Linked DNA regions of Homo sapiens: region 1 is linked to region 2. Evidence: promoter capture Hi-C in 16 types of primary human blood cells and fetal thymus (Javierre and others, 2016). All regions are on one chromosome and are shown on one strand. The core of a region is centred on a gene start or on the middle of the fragment in contact, and the rest is flanking DNA. Distances in the headings are between cores, read along the strand shown.

What was found. The method cuts DNA at HindIII sites, captures the fragments that hold promoters and counts their contacts. A CHiCAGO score of 5 or more calls a contact.
Region 1: a contact is called between a fragment that was not itself captured here and the fragment with the promoter of ZNF367 in region 2, in 1 of 17 cell types (neutrophils). The highest score is 5.4, in neutrophils.

What each region holds. Positions count from the first base shown.
Region 1 is chr9:97,604,722-97,611,218 of GRCh38, forward strand. TSTD2 (thiosulfate sulfurtransferase like domain containing 2) reads right to left here. Exons shown (of 10, transcript NM_139246.5): 6 at 5,625-5,730; 7 at 1,422-1,540; 8 at 762-920; 9 at 6-144. Among named protein-coding and RNA genes, the nearest start is that of TSTD2, 25 kb to the right of the region's middle. The HindIII fragment of the contact is 2,164 bases long and covers 2,658-4,821 here.
Region 2 is chr9:96,415,011-96,421,577 of GRCh38, forward strand. It overlaps ZNF367 (zinc finger protein 367), which reads right to left and starts at 3,360. Exons shown (of 5, transcript NM_153695.4): 1 at 2,603-3,360. The coding sequence starts at 3,022. RefSeq lists enhancers at 1,927-2,166, 3,641-4,174, 4,175-4,708, 5,225-6,424, 6,241-6,567 and silencers at 2,527-2,766, 3,067-3,206, 3,317-3,976, 4,237-4,506. The HindIII fragment of the contact is 11,520 bases long and covers 1-6,567 here.

The DNA of each region.
Region 1 (6,497 bases), core at 2,490-4,989, 1.2 Mb after region 2:
CCTACCTGACACCACATCACTGTTGTAGGACAGAGCATAGCGTTCATCAAAAACAAACAACTTCCCTTTGTAAAAGCCATCAGGAAACTCTTCCAGGTACTTGTGGATGCCACCCTTGAGCTGGAACACCTCCTTGCACACTCCCTAGGTGTGGAAAAACAACAGGAAATCTGAAGAGCCAGCAGAGACCTGTTAAGATGCTCACGGAAGAACGGCGCATGGCGAGGAGTGCTGACGTAGAGGACTCATGGCCGCTGCTATCAGTCAGGGGCTCCTGGCTCCCACTGCGGGACACTGAGGAATTGCTGACCAAGGGGTCAAGGCACCAACTGGCCAGATCTTGCCTCCTAGGGGGATGGGTGATGACAGCAGGCAGGGCCTTCACCCTCTAGATCCTGGGAAGCCCAACTATTTTTGCTGCCCCCTAAATATAGGAAGACACCTGTTGGGACATGTAATGTTACTGAATTTGCTCTTCTCAGGATCAAGCAAAAGGATCAGGAAAAGGGAGATGTTAACTAATCTCTCCCTTTTACATCTGATGAGTCTCTATGACTGTTAAGTGTTTTTCATATCTTGAGATTAAAGACCCTCAGATTTTGTACTTACGAACTCCATGCTGGAGCCATACGAGGGGTGAAGGCATGCTTTGGCTGCCTGGGGGTGGGGAGTACTGGGGGCAGCGGACAGCTCCACGTAAGCTGCTGGTGGAGCTGCCTCCTTCACTGCCATGCCCACAGTGCCCCGGGGTGGTGGCTCACCTTGGCTTTGAGGTAGGCTGAACCCCGCTCACAGCGGATGCCCCCGGTACAGTACATCAGCACTCTCTTCTCTCTGAAAAGTTCTAGATTTTTGTCAACGTAGCTAGGGAAGTAACTGAATTTCCTGATGTCTGGGGCTAAGCAGCCTTGGAATCGTCCCTGTAACATAGGAGCAACAAAAGGAAAATTATCAGAAAAACATACCTGGTAGGAACAAAGGTTCTTTTTGTACCCAACAAACCCTACTTAGCAAAGAAGCCCCTGCCAGTTGCTAATCTCATCCCCACTCTGACCTTTCAACTTCAAGATCTCAACTTAAAACCGAGGCTGTGGGCTGTGGGTCACCTTCCCAGGGTCCTCAGGGGAACTGGAGAGGCTGCCCAAAGGCAACTTTGCAAGATCCTTGATACATGTCAAAGGCAGGCTCATGGGAGTCACAAAGTATATTATGTGCCTGGATGCCTTTAATTCATATTTTCTTAGACTCTCTCACCAGATTTCTGAGTTTTAGGACTTGGGTTTTCTCTGAAGCTGCCAGTACTGGGAGGAGATCCATGTGGCCACAGGTGGGCACACACAAGGTCCCCTTGGGAAATATACCACACTGTGGGAATGGGGAGATCTACCAATTCAGAGAACTCAGTTCTGGCTTTTACTTACTATTTTGCTTTCATAGAAGTTTCTGCAATCAAGAAGGATAGTATCACTTTGTTCTTGATTTGCCTGAGATAAAAACTTTTCTACTTCTTTATGAAATTCACCTGGGGATAAATGGATTCCTAAAACCAAACCAAAAAAATTATATTAAAACAAAGACAAAAAAACCAAAACCCAATCATGACTCACCCAGCCTGACTTACGTGTTGCTTTGTTTCTTTCCACCCAAATCTCTTCTCTTCATAATTACAACTGTCTGAAAAGAACACTACTTGATGATCATGATGAAATAACTTAGTAATTCCAGTAATTCCAGGTATCCTCAATCTCCCTCCTCCTAAAATGAGGGCAATGGAGACCTGGTAGTTTAGAAATAACTAGTCAAAGAATTTTGCATCCTCATACTTGGCCTAACCCTAGTGATAAAAACCAGGCAACTGGGATCTAAATTGCCATGTGAATTTGCTGGTCCATTGTATGGTCACTGGTAGGTCAGGAAATGGCCACTGCTCTATTGTCACTGTACATGGAGGAGCTGGGCAAGTACGTGGCTGACTACAGGCTTTGTAAACTGTTCTATATTAAGGTCGAACCCACGTTGAAGGCTAAGAACCCACAGGCAGGTGTGAGCAAAAAGTTATGGAATAAAGTTGGAATAGATACATTTTTAATGCAAAGGAGCAAGAAGAATGTGTCTAAGTGTGTGTGCATGAGTAAAAGAGAAAAGGGCAAGAGGGGTGGACAACAGAAACGACATATGAGAAAGAAAGTAAAGGAGAGAAAAAGACAGGAAAGCTAGAAGATGGGTAAGTATTAAAATACAAGGGGAAGCCTGGGGAACATAGCGAGACTCTGTCTCTAAAAAAAATTTAAAAAATTAGCTGGCCATGGTAGTGTGTGCCTGTAGTCTCAGCTACTTTGGAGGCTGATGCAGGAGGACCCCTTGAGCCCAAGAGATCAAGGCCTCAGTGAGCTATGATCACACCACTGTACTCCAGCCTGGGCAATAGAGCAAGACCCTGTCTCAAAAAATATATATACAAAGGGACTAATAGGAGAGAACCTCAGTCTCCTGGGGCTCTTTGCCTTGTAACTCTCTAGGATAGAAATATTCCCCTATCTTTGAGGGTCCAGAAATCTCAGTAGATTGTGAGGAACTTTTGGTGAATCTGCATTATGAGGTAGCCATGCCTCATGGGCAGGGGCTCTGGTGACTCAGTTACCTACCACTCATGATAAAGCTTTACAGCACCAAAGGAGCCTCATTCCCCTCAGAGAGGAACCCCAACAACCAATGAAACTACTCCACACCAAGGAGAGATGAGGGCCCAGAGCCAGGCCAAGGAATCTGGATTGCTACCTGCCTGAGTTATGGTTGTAATGAGAATGTAGTAAGGCCAGATTCTATATAAGGTACTGTCACACAATTACATGGATACAAAAAGAGTGGGGTGAAAAGGGAGATTCAAACATGGGACGTAGGCCAGGCATGGTGGCTCACACCTATAATCCTAATGCTTTGGGAAGCTGAGGCAGGCGGATCACCTGAGGTCAGGAGTTCAAGACCAGCCTGGCTAACATGGTGAAACCCCGTCTCTACTAAAAATACAAAAATTAGCCAGGTGTGGTGGCACATTCCTTTAGCTCCCAGCTACTCAGTAGGCTGAGGCAGGAGAACTACACAAAACTGGGAGGCAGAGGTTGTAGTGAGCATTCCAGCCTGGGCAACAGAGTGAGACTCCGTCTCAAAAAAAGGCCAGGCGTGGGTGAGGCAGCTCTCGCCTATAATCCCAGCACTTTGGGAAGCTGAGGCAGGTGAATCACTTGAGGCCAGGAGTTGCAGATCAAACTGGTCAACATGGCGAAACCCCGTCTACTAAAAATACAAAAAAAATTAGCTGGGCGTGGTGGCGCATGCCTGTAGTCCCAGCTACTCGGGAGGCTGAGGCAGGAGAATCTCTTGAACCCAGGAGGCAGAGGTTGCAGTGAGCTGAGATTGCGCCACTGCACCCCAACCTGAGCAACAGAGTGAGACTCCATCTCAAACAAACAAACATGGGATGAAAAGCATGGAAATGTGCTAAGACTTCTACCTGCAGGAAGCCACAGGAAACCAAACCTGTTCCCTGCTGCTATGATTGCAGTTGTTCTACTGGCCCTGAGAACGATTGTTTGGACAGTGACCAGCATGGATGTGTTTAAAAGACATCTCTTTACCAGGTGCGGTGGCTGATGCCTATAATTCCAGCACTTTGTGAGGCTGAGGTGGGCAGATCACTTGAGGTCAGGAGTTTGAGACCAGCCTGGCCAGTGTGGCGAAACCCCATCTCTACTAAAAATACAAAAATTACCCGGGTGTGGTGGCGCACACTTGTAATCCCAGCAACTTGGGAAGCTGAGGCAGGAGAATCGCTTGAACCCCGGGGGAAAAGGTTACAGTGAGCTGAAATCACGCCACTGCACTCCAGCCCAGGCAACAGAGCAAGACTGTCTCAAAAAAAGAAAAAGAGGTCCCTTTAAACTTCCTTCAAGTGAAAACAAGACAGCACTGCCTAGAGCCCACTCTCTGCCTGCAATGTCCTGCAGTGCCCAGGAAAAGCTGTTTGTAGTCATACTGCCTCCTGCTAAGATGGGAACAGTAAGCAGACAACAGCTCTTTCTGGCCCTCATCTCCCCATGCATGAGTCTCTTTCCCAGATGCCTGTATCCTAATCCCGTTTCCCCCTGGCTTCACTCTTAGACTTCTTTCAAAACTTTACATATTACAAAATGAACACCATGGAGTCAACCAGACCTTTGTGCTTCCTGATCAAAGAAGACAACAGTGCTTATGTAGTCTTGGTGGCGGGAGAAAAAGAAATCAAATTGGAATCTGATCAAGTCTCTAGTCCTGGTTGTTAATACAGTAGCTACTAGCCACATGTGGCTGACAAGCACTTGTGCTATAATAGGGGTGACATACATACTGAATCTCAAGGACTTAGCATGAAAAAAAGTAAACTAATAATTTTTTATATTGATTACATGTTGAAATAATATTTTTGATATACTGCATTAAGAAAACCATATTATTTAAATTAATCTCATCTATTTTTTACTTTTAAAGACATGGCTACTAGAAAATGTAAAATTGTGTAGCTCACATTATACTTCTATTAGCACTACTCTAAATCTAATGATCAACTTATAGGAAATAAAGAGGACAGAGAAATATATCTTGGGAATACAATTATTATTGTCCAGATTATGGGAAACTCTAAAGGTCAAATGATCCAGTTCCTTCAAAAATAAACTGCAAGGGGGGAAAAAAAGATGGAAACAAATCTATAGGTTGAAAGACACTTAAAGAGACATACTGATGAATCACAGTGAATGAACCTTATTTAAATCCTAATAGAAATGAAGCTTAAAAAGTATGAGACAACCGGGAATTGAGTGACTAAACCAACTAGATATTTGATAATTTATTAAGGAATCAGTTAAAATGTTTTAAGATGTGATATCGTTTTGCATCTTTTAAAACAAATTTTTATCTTTTAGACATACCTACTAAAAATATTTACAAATGAAATGGCCTGACATTGGGGTTGCTTTCAAAATAATCCAAGATGGGAGAAGGGATGGGGTATAGGTGAGAGCTGGCCATTAATCAGTTAACTGCTAAAGCTGCATGATAGGTACATAGAACTTCACTATATTATTTTCTCTACTTTTTTAATGTTTAAAATTTTTCATAGTAAAAACTACAATAAAACCCCCAAAAACCTGCCAAACAAATGTCTTTCAACCATTTACCATGGAGAAGATGGGGAAAGAACATTCTAGAGCACAGTGAAAACTGCTGTGGTGTTGAAAGCAACTTGTTTCCTGTAGCAAAAGGCCTATTTGCTCTATTCTGCTAATGAACTGTTTACAAGTAATAATTACACTCTTCCCAAACTGCTTGCTGTCTTTGGAAAGAGCAAACAACTAATTGATAAACCATCACCAAGAGGAATAAGATAGGTCACTCGAAGAGGTGAGTCTTCAACCCCACAGCACCACAGAGAAACAGTATAAGCACTGGATGCAGCCAAGTGTTAGCCACCCCACAGCTGCTTTAGAGAGGACTCATGACTGCTGCTGATCACAGTGCCTAGCTTTCTTATTTGTCTATTAAGTTTTGTCCCTGTGAATTAAAGCACAATCTTCTAAAAGCAAGCATACCAGGCTTCTTGTAGGAGATCTTTTTGGGGCTGATCCCCATGGGCACGATTTCTTCAAATACACCAACACGCAATTCTGGAAAACAGTGAGCTCCTCCTTTGCTGGTCTAGCCAATGAGAAACAAAACAGAATACAGTCTTGCTGTCCCATCTCCAGGTATAAGACAAGTGCCAATATAAGAATGATGGTCTGTTTTGTAATAACAATAGCTGAAGTCTTAAAAAACCTCTAGTTAGGGCCCAGAATGTTCCAGATAATTCAACATTGATAAATACTTACTGCATACCTGCCATGTGCAGGAATGTTAAGCTGAAAAAGTGTTTCTTTAGGTGTAAGCATTTAATTATAAAACTGCAACACCGCTGAGCAATTCTAACATGTGACTATACCCGGTTTTCATTCTTTTCCTATCATTGCCAGCATGAACGCTAGCAAGGCATTTCCCATCACCTTATCACTTATTATGACAAGGTATAAAGTCACTCAAACAAAGCAGCCCACCTGTGAGAGCAACAACTTTATTCCCCCATGTGGTATGAAGTGTTAATCTTACAATTCCAGATTTACTAAAAACACAGTGATCTGCTGACCAGGCTGGTGGTCTCTCAAGTGAGCTAATATGTCCAAGATTTGGAGTCCCAGATTGCATGAGCTGTAACATTCTTATTTTATAAGAAGGGATACTGAGGTCTAGAGCACTAGCTGGTCCAAAATCATATGGTGACTCAGTGAAAGAATGGGGACGAGCATACTCCTTCTATTGTACTGTCTCGTAACCTAAAGAGAAAAGCACATTTAAAGGGGAAAGGGGGCAGGTGCGGTATCTCACGTCCATATCTCAGCACTATAGGAGGCTGACGTGGGAGGACTGCT
Region 2 (6,567 bases), core at 2,110-4,609:
TTATAAATGGTTAACACAAAAATACCTAGGATACCCATCCAAATTTTTTTTTTTTTTTTTCTGAGACAGAGTCTTGCTCTGTCGCCCAGGCTGGAGTGCAGTGGCACGATCTCGGCTCACTGCAAGCTCCGCCTCCCGGGTTCACGCCATTCTCCTGCCTCAGCCTCCCGAGCAGGTGGGACTACAGGCGCCAGCCACCACCCCTGGCCAATTTTTTTTTTTTTTTTTTTGTATTTTTAGTAGAGACGGGGTTTCACCGTGTTAGCCAGGATGGTCTCTATCTCCTGACCTTGTGATCCGCCTGCCTCGGTGTCCCAAAGTGCTTGGATTACAGGCGTGAGCCACCCACCCGGTGGATACCGATCCATCTTACATCTCACTAGGGGATACCTAGAGGCAGCCCAACAGCAACTGTAGCCTTTAGTAATACTCAGCAATACTATCAACGCTTCTATCGTTAGTTTCTTCATTTTTTTTTTTTTTTTTTTTTTTTTTTTTTTTTTTTGAGACGGAGTCTCACTCTGTCCCCCAGGCTGGAGTGCAATGGCGCAATCTCGGCTCACTGCAACCGCCGCCTCCCGAGTTCTACCAATTCTCCTGCCTTAGCCTCCCAAGTAGCTGGGATTACGGGCGCCCGCCACCACGTCCGGCGAATTTTTATATTTTTAGTAGAGACAGGGTTTCACCATGTTGGTCAGGCTGGTCTCGAACTCCTGGACCTCAGGTGATCCACCCGCCTCAGCCTCCCAAAGTGCTGGGATTACAGGCGTGAGCCACCGCACCTGGCAAGTTTCTTCAATTTTTGTTAAAGAGTTGAGGTCTTGCTTTGTCACCCAGACTGAAGTGCAGTGGTGCTATCATGTCTCACTGTAGCCTCAAACTCCTGGTCTCAAGTGATCCTCCTGCCTCAGCCTCCCATGTAGCTACGTATATAGGTGCAGGCCGCCAGATGCGGTCTATGTTGCCCAGGCTGGTCTTGAACTCCTGGTCTCAAGTGATTCCCCAGCCTCAGCCTCCTGAAGGGATCACAGGCATGAGCCACCTCACCAGGCTCTGTTATGGTTTTTTTTTTTGTTGTTTTTTTTTTTTTTTTTTGAGACGGATTCTCGCTCTTTTGCACAGGCTGGAGCGCAGTGGCCTGATTTCAGTTCCCTGCAAGCTCCGCCTCCCGCTTCACGCCATTCTCCTACCTCAGCCTCCCGAGTAGCTGGGACTACAGGCGCCCACCACCAAGCCCGGCTAATTTTTTGTATTTTGAGTAAAGACGGGGTTTCACCGTGTTAGCCAGGATGGTCTTGATCTCCTGACCTCGTGATCCGCCCGCCTCTGCCTCGCAAAGTTCTGGGATTACAGGCGTGAGCCACCGCACCCGGCCCAGGTTCTGTTCTTTCAAATGTTTACTGAGGTGCAGTTTCAAGAGCTGAAGTGTATAAAAACCTATAGTTTTATAACCTTATAATTATTTAATAATAATGCCACATAAAATATATCAATTTCCTCAAAACCCAAACAATGTAGTTTCAACATCCTTGTGACTGCATGTAAAATGATCAAACTCGTTTCAACTTATACATTATGTGCTGATACAGATGCAGTTATCCACTATGTGATTTACTTGTTATCTCTTGCAAATTGCTTATCTTATACAGCCACTTAACAAATGGAACCTGGATATTACCCTTCTGTTAGCACCATTCATTCATTACACAAATATTTTTTGAGCACCTTTATTGAGCATTTACAGAATGTAAGGTAGTAAAGTCATATAGTCTTCTAGATAGAAATACTCCTGGCTCACCTGGAGCTTACAGTCTACAGAGTTCAGTATAAGTCAGCAGAAAGTCACCCCAAACACATGCAGGACTAAAAGCCACAAAACCTCGACCTAGTCCCCGCTCTTCCACTACTGAGCTGTGCCATCGTGGGAAGGTCGCCTCACTAATCACTGTAAGCCCCAGCTGCCTGATCTGTAAAATAGGTTTGAACCAGTGGTAACGACCTTCCCAGCTTTAAGCAGTCGGAGACTGCAAGCAATTTTAGCGTCCCATTCCACTATGTGCTCTCAACACCTAGCAAGTAGTATGCTGGATAAATGAAAGGCAGCGAAGGCACAACTTCAGCCGCAGAACAGGCCCAGAAGTCCTTTCTTGCTCTTCGGCTGTCTCTGCAGGGCATCTTTTAACAGGGCGAGGGCGATCTGCAGTAATGGAGCAAACACTGTGCGCTCCCTGCCCTCTCGCAGTCGGTGGAACAACTCAAGGCCCTCATCCCTCTCGTTTCCTCTCGGAACTGAGGACTCGGCAGCCCGCCGGGAGGATGTCAGTGGCCGTTGACCCGGCCTCCCCAGCGACCCCGGGCCGCGCTCCCGCCCACTGCACCTGCCGCAAGGACGGTCTCCCGCGCCGCTCCCGCCTGTCACGTGACAGGCCCCCCCCGACTGGGGCCGGTTTTTGGCGCGCGGCAGTGACGTCAGCATCCTGTCAGCCGCAGCCCCCGCCGTAGCCGGATCGACCTCGCGTTTTCAACTCCGCCCCGCCCGCCGCACCGTTAACGGGCCCCGGCTGCCCCACGTCCCGCCCGCCCGCCCGCCCGCGCCGCTCACCTTGAGGTGGCCGCTGTCTGGGCTGCTCGCTTCCTCCTCGTCCTCACCTCCCGAGGCGGCGGCGGAGGCCGAGGCGGCGGGCGGGGGCGCGCCCCGGCCACGAAGCCCCGAGTGCTCGGCGGCTGCGGCTGCAGGCAGGGCGGCCGAGGCGGCGGCCCCCGCGGCCCCAGGGCTGAGCGTCACGTTGTGTGCGTTCTCGCCCCAGCGCCACGGGTACACCATGAAGTCGCTGAAGCCGGGGCTGGTGGGGATGAGCGGCGGCGGCGGCTCCGGCTCCCCTCCACCGCCGCACGTTGGCTTGATCGGGGTCGTCCTGATGACCGACACCAGCACCCGCTTCGGGGAGTCGTGGCAGAAGATGACGGGCGGCGGCGGCGGCGGCGGGTTCTCCGCCATGGGCGCCTCGAAGCCCCGGATCATCGCCCGGCCCGACCCCCAGCTCCGGCGGCCCCGGGCCGCACTCCTGAGCACCGCTCTGCCCCTCACTCGCTCTGCTCCGAGTCGCAGGCTCAGTCCTGCCGGCTCATGGCAGACTGACGTTTCCCGGAATCCTGCGCAGCAGCCACCTAACTAGTTGAGCAGACGGCACCGGCGGGCAGGGCTGGACCCCAGCCCCAGGTCAAGCGCGCCCTCCGCTCTTTGTACTCCGCAGCGCAGGCTGCAGGGGTGGGAAGCAGCGGGCGGCCCGGCCCTTGCGGTGACAGGAAAGCAGGACGCGCGGCGCTGAGCCCCCAAAAATAACAACCTGCCGCCGCGGTGCCTGCCCCGGCTTTTCCCGCGTTACATTTCGCGCCTGGGCGGAACCAGTCACCGCGAGGCCGCTGCCCGCTGGCCGCACCGGCGAGTGACAGGCGGCGCGAGCCAATGGCCAGGCCTGGCCTTCTTTCCAGCCGGCCGGGGCGGGGCCGGGTCTGCGCGCGGGTCCTTCCCACCTCGCCATTGGCCGCCGCTCTTATATTTTTTTCTGTCTGGAGGGCCAACAGCGTTCGAAACTCCAGTGGAGCGCGCGGCGTCTCCACTCGCCCGGACACACCCGCCTGCCGCCCCGCCCCGCCGTCCCTCCGCGTGGTTAGTCCGGGCCAGGGAGACAAGGGCGGCGGGGAGGGCGGCAAGAGGGCGGCTGATTGGACAGCGGCGGGGCGGGGTCGGGGGGGGTGGTGATCGTTGGGCGGTGGAGGCGCGCGCCCCGCTCGGCCCCGCCCGCCGTTGGTTGTTGGGCCGCGGTTCCCGCGCGCAGGGAGTTTAAAGGGCTGGGGCCCCGCCGCCCGCCCCGCCCTCGGTCCCACCACCCGCCCGGCGGCTGGAGTCTCTGCTGCCCGAGGTCCTGATGGGCACCCGGCGTGCCTGGTTTCTTAATCGAGTTCCGTCTGCTCAGCTGTTGCACGCTCTGTGAACCAGCCCTGTCAGCACCGCCCTGACTCCTCCGGGCCGATTGTGGGCCTCCGGTTCCCCATCTGTGGAAAGGGGAGAGTCCAGGAAGTGGCCTCCGAAGTCCCTGCGGGCCGCTCGCGGCGCGGAGGCCACAAGAGCCGGGCGAGAGTAGACACTCTCACCCTGGACTGATGCCCCGAAGTTGCCTCGGGGATCTCCCCACCCCGGCGACCCCGCTCTACCGAGCGGCTGCTCCGGGAGTCGGGGCAGCGCCCTACTTTGCTCGGCCCCCACCTGCCCCGGCCGCGTCCTAGTACTCGCGCCGGGACGCGCGGAGCCCCAACGTCCTCTGCCCGCCCCGCCCCAGCCCCGCCTGGCTGGCGCCGACCGCGGCCCGGGTGGGGCTCGCAGGCTGCAGAGGAAGGACCGGGCGGAGGGGTTGCCCGGCTTCCTACCCGCTAGATGTGGCCTGGGGAGCTGCGTTTTGTTCTTGGGAATACAGATTCCCAGGCACCGCCTGATTCGCGGTAGGGGCTCAATAAATATTTGCTGAATGGATGAATGAATATCCATTGGTTAAGGGTTAGGATTGGTAATTAAGTTAGAACACGACTGTATAATAACAGATAACTAAGCTGAATAGCTTTTCTCTCTGTGAAAGACACACAAATGCACAGCTATGACTAAATTAAGCCACAATTGTTTAAAAACAAATAAAGGAAACTGTACTGATATGAACAATTTCAAAAATGTATTTTTATTTTAAAAGGCAAAACAAGCAATAGTGTGATTTTATGTAAAATTGTTAAAGTGGGGAAAATACGTTTTTACTTTTAGACGTACATAAAATATCTGGCAAGATGCAAAAGAAACATGGATCATGGAGGGAAATTGTGTGGCTGGGAACAGAAGTGAAAAGATTTCAAGAAATACAATATATAACTATCTTTTGAACTTTGAACCAAGTGAAAGTATCCTTTTAAGAAATGAAACAGTATATAGCCTCCATTTTCTGGAGGCCTACTACAAAAATAGCATATATGTACTGATACACAATAATACATATGGATGTTTCACAGTTCACTCAACAATTGGGTAAGGAAGATATTTTTCCCATTTTATAAATGAGAAAAGTTGAGGCTTGTACAAGATTACATAATAAATCCTTTGGAAGAATAAGTCTGTACTGCCTGTGGATTATATTCAGTGTCTGCTGAGCAAAAGGAGGAAAAGGCTGAAAAATGGGACTCACACATTTCTCGGTCCCGTTTCTCATATTCCAAAACTTTCAGGGTTTAGGGGCAAATTTCATATTGTAATGGTTGATCTAGAAAGTTGAAAGTTCAGCCCTACTTTCACCTAATTTAGTAAACATACATTTTGTTTTTACAGTTTAATACCAAAAAACATATTTTTCTGAATCAGTTGGAAGGGAAATGTTATCCATCTGTTTTATACTTGACAAGTAGTGTAAAGAAAAAAGTGATCTATCCATCATGGACACTCGAATTAGGGGTTGAGCAAAATCCAACAGATTAATCACCAACAAATAGTTACTGTTTAACATTCAGAGCATGCCCCAGAGGGCAAGATGAATCATCCAGCACAGGATGCTGACTTTCTGCTTCTAAAAATTGCCCTTCATCAACAGTAACCTGGCAACTCCACTTGCTCTCTTCCCCAAGAGAATGAAAGACATGCCAGGAATGTGTGAACTGGGCAGAAGGTGATTCCAGGAGCAAAGCTGAGGTCATACCAGATCTTTGCTTGTTTGGCTCCATTTTCATGCAATGAAGAAGCTGTCTGAAGTGTATGGATCATATTCCTGATGTCTTTGTTCTGTCTCAGATATTAACAGCCCATAATGTCAGAGGCCTGTGAACCAGAGCAACTCCATTTTAAAAAGGAGCTGGGTAAAATGAGGCTGAAACCTACTGGGCTGCATTCCCAGACGGTTAAGGCATTCTAAGTCACAGCATTAGATAGGAGGTCAGCACAAAATACAGGTCATAAACACATTGCTGATAAAACAGGTTGCAGTAAAGGAACCGGCCAAAACTCACCAAAACCAAAATGGCCATGAGAGTGACCTGTGGTCCTCCTCAACTGCTACACTCCCACCAGCGCCGTGACAGTTTACAATGCCATGGCAACGTCAGAAGGTTACCCTATATGGTCTAAAAAGGGGAAGCATGAATAATCCACCCCTTGATTAGCATATCATCAAGAAATAACCATAAAAATGGGCAACCAGCAGCCCTCAGGGCTGCTCTGCCTATGGAGTAGCCATTCTTTATTCCTTTACTTTCTCAATAAACTTGCTTTCACTCTGCACTGCGGACTCGCCCTGAATTATTTCTTGTGAGAAATCCAAGAACCCTCTCTTGGGGTCTGGATCAGGACCCCTTTCCGGTAACAACAATACATACTAAATCTGAAAAATACTGAAACCTATCTCAGGATACTTACTATATTACTAAAGTAGCATTTTCAACTCTTAAAAATATAGGCCCCTTCAGCTGGGCGCGGTGGCTGACAGCTATAATCCCAGCACTTTGGGAGGCCGAGGTGGGCAGATCATGAATGAGGTCAGG